Linked DNA regions of Homo sapiens: region 1 is linked to region 2. The links are contacts of gene promoters, found by promoter capture Hi-C in blood cells and fetal thymus (Javierre and others, 2016). All regions are on one chromosome and are shown on one strand. The core of a region is centred on a gene start or on the middle of the fragment in contact, and the rest is flanking DNA. Distances in the headings are between cores, read along the strand shown.

The links. Contacts are between HindIII fragments. The CHiCAGO score rates a contact against its expected background, and 5 or more counts as called.
Region 1: a fragment that was not itself captured here is called in contact with the fragment with the promoter of EDNRB in region 2 in 1 of 17 cell types (M0 macrophages); the score reaches 5.1 in M0 macrophages.

The regions. Positions count from the first base shown.
Region 1 is chr13:79,397,174-79,399,873 of GRCh38, forward strand. The region is part of intron 1 of RBM26 (RNA binding motif protein 26); the gene reads right to left. Among named protein-coding and RNA genes, the nearest start is that of RBM26, 7.7 kb to the right of the region's middle. The HindIII fragment of the contact is 469 bases long and covers 1,087-1,555 here.
Region 2 is chr13:77,917,541-77,920,240 of GRCh38, forward strand. EDNRB (endothelin receptor type B) reads right to left here and starts at 1,291. Exons shown (of 7, transcript NM_001122659.3): 1 at 551-1,291. The coding sequence starts at 1,033. RefSeq lists promoters at 1,220-2,292, 1,282-1,396 and a cis regulatory region at 1,648-1,657. The HindIII fragment of the contact is 2,812 bases long and covers 477-2,700 here.

The DNA of each region.
Region 1 (2,700 bases), core at 71-2,570, 1.5 Mb after region 2:
CTGTCTCAAAAAAAAGAAAAAGAAATAAGAAGTTAGCCAAGTTAACAATAACCTTTTATGACAAAAATATTAAGCAAATTAAGAAAAAAATTCTCAATCTGGTAAAAGGCAGTTACTAAAAACCTAGAGCCAATATCAGTAATACTGAAACATTTAATCTCTTTCCCTTTAGACTGGAAACAAGACATGGACGTCCACTCTTACTACTTCAACATTGTACTATTGCTTCTAGCCAGCATGATAAGAAATGAAGGTATATTGGGAGGTTGAGGCAGGCGGATCATGAGGTCAGGAGATCGAGACCATCCTGGCTAACACGATGAAACCCTGTCGTCTCTACTAAAAATGAAAAAAAAAAGTTAGCCGGGTGTGGTGGCACGTGCCTGTAGTCTCAGTTACTCGGAAGACTGAGGCAGGAGAATCGCGTGAACCCGGGAGGTGGAGGCTGCAGTGAGCTGAGATCACGCCACTGCAATCCAGCCTGGGCAACAAACCAGACTCCATCTCAAAAAAAAAAAAAAAAAAAAAAAGAAATGAAGGTATAAAAATCAGAAAATTGTCATTACTCATAGATGATGAGATTGGTAGAAGAAAATTCCACAGAATCTATAAAATAGCTACTAGAATAAGTACACTTGGTAAAATTTCAGAATTCAACGTCAATATACAAATATATTTCTATATACTAACAATAAAAATCAGAAAATCAAAATTTTAAAAGCATTTGTAAAACATGTCGCAGAAAAAAATAACAAAAGAAATGCTTCTACATAGGTAAAATATCTCAAGAAGAATCACTAAGTAACAGATCTTGAACTTACTCCATTATTTAATACACACATAAAAGATACTAATAAAACCCTAAGTTAAAAATAAACTTTTACCTATTTCAAAGTTACTGCATGTAAATTGAAAAGACTTTTTCCACAGAAATAAAGTAGTAGGAGAGTAATGAGTAAGTCTAGTAGGAACAGCTTACCATTCATTCATTTCTCTCATTCATTCTTTTCTCTGGCACAAAGGAAGCAAGAAGAGGGAAAAAAATCTTACAAGCTATTTAGCTCAAGCTTCAGTTAGTCATTCTCAAGCTTAGGTTATGTACATAACTAACATGGGAATATTTTACATTTTGCTCATAATACAGTCCCTATCTCTCAGTTTAAGCATGTAAAATAATTTTGAGAAGCACTGTCAGCCAAAGATAAGGAAGTGCTAAAACATACAGAAAAAAAGTGCTAAATGCATTTTAACCACTCAGCATTCAGATGGAAAGGCCAAATAAGATTGCAGCAGCAAAATGTGATTATGAAAGTCAATTTATCACAAGTTAAGGGGATAAAGAAATAAAGAAAAATGTTTTAACCAATAATTATAGACTATTAACTCTTCTACCAGCTATAAAATTCATCAGGTTAGAATTACTATAATTCTTTTATGTGCAGCTCTATGGAGACAGCAATCTTGCACATAGCAACATTCAATAATACTTTAACAAGTAAATATTAATATACTTCAATGACCTTTCCCTCTCAAAGAAAAAAAAAATCTGAACTTAAGCTTTACCTAAACTGAAGATGCTAGGAGTAAAAATGGAAAGAAGTAGACCCAAAGACTACTTAATCTTCAAATAGCTCACATATCTGCTGTTCTGAAGTTGGGTAGATTCTATAGTTTTACCCAAATTATTGCCTCTTCCCTTGGTTTTAGGTACACAAACTTGAAATTTCAACTAACGCATTTAATAATCAGGTATATACTACACACAAAGCATTGTGCTAGATAATGTATATAATGAACAGGAACATAGTTAAATCTTAAGAGCTGGAGTCTGCTTTCAAGGGCCTGAGACTCTAATAATAAAGCTAAAATAACACGACTAAATAATTTAATGTACAAGTGATGAGTGTCATGACAACTGAAACCAGTGCTGAGAGAGAGGAGTCATGGTGGGAGGAGTCACTTCACCCAGCTGGATAGATCATAGGCAGCTTTCTGGAAGAACTGGAATCACACTTGATCTTTGACTTCAACACAAAGAAAGGATATAAAGACAGTACACCATAATACAACAAGGCTCTGGAATCAAAATGTCTTCTTTTGGATCCTGTCTCCATCACTTACTAGCTATGAATAAAGTATGCTAATTCATCTTCCTAACACCTATCTTGCACACAATGAATGTATAACAATTAACATATATTAATAGTAAGCACTCAATAAATGGTGCCCACTACTAATCTTCAGAAAAAAGAAACAGTAAAGTTTCAGAAAAAAGAAACAATAAAAAAAAATGACAGTGAATCACGAAAGTTCAGCTTTGCTGAAATTAAGACTCATATAAAAAGTAGAAAGATATAAATGGAAAAGATAATTTAAAGCAAATCATTAGCTTTCTTAAAGGCAAGCTAAAAAGTATGCAATTTATTATCTGGGAATGCTGAAGGTTTTGATCAAGCAATGGGATACAAACAAGGCTGGGCATCCATGTCAGAAGAACTGGAAGGGAGAAAGGCCTAGAGATAAAAACAGATTTGTTAGGAAGCAAACTGCAATCATTTAGATACGGAGTGTGAGCCCCCTACTAAGCAATGTCAGTAAGGATTATTAAGAGAGAACCTCATGACTAAGTGAATGGGAGGAAGGAGAAGCCAAAAAATTTCAAGCCAGCATAATTTGGAGAAATGAAATTAAAATAAGTGA
Region 2 (2,700 bases), core at 41-2,540:
TAGTAAGTCTGAGGTAGCCTTGCATTCCTAACAAACTCTCAGGTAATATTGATGCTGACTGTCCATGGACCACACACTTTTGACTAGAGGATGTACCCCATTAGGTGCACTTAGGGACTAGATCCTTCAGGACTAGTGGTTCTCAAACTTTACAGTTCATCATAATCACATAAAGGGCTTGTTAAAATACAAATTACTGTGCTCCACTCCAGAGTTTCTGATTCAGTAGGTCTGGGGTGAGGCCAGAAAAATCTTCATGTGCACCAAGTTCCCAAAGTGATACTAACATTGCTAGACTGGGGACTACGCTTGTCCTAAGCTTAGCAGAGGTCTACTGAAGACCTGAATGGAATTTTATTCCAATGGTTACTGACTTTTATGAGTGGACAGAACCAAATGGAATTTGGTTCCAAAGATTACTGACTTTTAGGAGGGGCAGAACCTTAAGAGGGAGCTAAAGGGAAGCTCCCTCTACAAGCTTTCTCATCTCCCCGTCTCCAACCAGGCCCCCTTCCTCAAGCCCACCATGATTTCAGCAGGCGCCCTTTACCTTGTAGACATTGATAGGGATGTCAATGACGATGTGCAGCAGGTCTCCCAGAGCCAAGCTGGCGATCAAGATATTGGGACCGTTTCGCATGCACTTGTTCTTGTAGATAATTCTCAGAAGTGTGGAGTTCCCGATGATCCCCAGCACGAACACAAGGCAGGACACAACCGTGTTGATGTATTTGAAAGTCTCCTTGATCTCGATGGGTCCTTGGCACGGGGGAGGGGAGATGGTGCGTGGCGGAGATCCTGCCGTCCTGTCTCCTTTAGGCACCTCCGCAGGTGCCAACGACCGCGCCAGACTGGCGTTGGAACCCTTGGGCCATAAGGTCTTAGTGGGTGGCGTCATTATCTCTGCGGTTTGCAAAAGCGGAGTGGCCCTGTCAGGCGGGAAGCCTCTCTCCTCTCCCCAGATCCGCGACAGGCCGCAGGCAAGAACCAGCGCAACCAGGGCGCGTCCGCACAGACTTGGAGGCGGCTGCATGCTGCTACCTGCTCCAGAAGGCGTCCGGTGGCCGCTCCGCAGTTTCAGAGCCTAGAGACAAGCAGAGGAAGGAAGACAGGACACTTGGGTCAGCTGCCCGAGCCAAGTCGCTGCAAACGCTAATACCGCCCGCAGCCTCTTCGCCAGTATCCACGCTCAAAAGTAACTCAAGTTTGCGCGCCAGTGGGAAACTTGGCGCTCATGACTCGCCAGCGCGGGTCGAAACTCCTTCCTGATGCCCTCTCAGCTGTTTTTCTTCCCCCGCGTGGCCAGGAGGGGTAAATAATATGCAGTGGGGCGGGGCGTTCTGGAAGGGGTGTGCCAGGGAGGGAATGATGGGGGTCCCAGGCAAAGCTCCGAACTCTTTCACGTAACGGGAGGAATACAGACACGTCTTAGTTAAGCGTGCGTGGGAACCGCGGAATTAAGGCACCTAGAGGCCAAGGGCTTGTGTCAAGCTCTGCATTTTGCCCCGCAGGGGAACCTCTATACCCCGCGATTGAACTCGAAAGACTCCTCCCGGCGGATGAAAGCCGCTACTCCCTGGCTGGCTGAGCTACAGCTCCCGCAGCGCGCCCAGGAGTGCGCCGGAGATTCGGAAACCCGCAGAGACTTCTCAAGTCAGCAGGAACTTGGAAACCGCTGTTCCCTCCAAACGGCTTCAAACACTCGCGCTCCTTCCTTTACCCAACCTAATTTTAATTTGCCCTCTCTATAGGCTTAATTTTTATTTTTTTAAAATCCCAAACTAGTAAGCCAAACCGAAGCCCCAGAATAAGGTTCAATCAATGATTTTAATTCAACACCAAGCCCGAATGTTTACCTCTCGGATCTGACAAACCAGATGCAGAGCGACGAATGGAGACCACCTTCCCGGGAGGCGGAACCCAGCTGGGTTCCAGCCTGCTCTGGGAGAGGAGCACGCCTCCCTTGAGCTGCAGGCGGGTCCGGCTCTGACGAAACGCTGCGAGAATGCCAGACAGTGTAGCCTCCACCGTTTGCTCGGGGTCTCTGCTGCCATCAGACAAGTACTTTTATTCATTCATCCCTTCCCATCAATCACCGCCAGACTCCTCCCGCGCCTTCCGACCCCGCTGCAACCTTTCCCCTTGGGCGATGCCTGGACAGCATCAGTAGTAGTTGCCCGAGGGAGGGGGGCAGTCCTCGTCCGGGGACAGGTCCCAAAAGGCTGTTTATTTGTTAGAGTTCTACGCTCTTCAAATGAACCCAAATCAAGGGCAAGTTATCACGCACCATGTGACACCCGGCAGCTCCAGACTAGAACAAGGCTCTGCACTGAACGTGATAATTGAACTTTTAATGCCAAGTGTCACTTTTCTTTCAGGTAAATGTTCCGCCGCTGTGATATTTAAGGTTGGTTTGTGGGCGCTGCTCTTTGCTCTGCTTCATTTTGCCCTGAAGTTTCATTTCAAGCCAACATTAACCCCAACACGGAACAGCTCGATCTTTTCTTCCCAGGCCCTCTCACTGCCCCGAGAGAGGATTACAAGTACTCCTCATTTTCCCCAGTACAGCTCTTCTCCTCTCTTCCTGCCACAGTATCGGTGTTAGGCAATCTCAGGCATTTTTATACTGTACCTATGACAGACTTGATGCTTATCGGAGACATGAAAATAATCAGAAAGCTGCCATGCAAATTCAACATG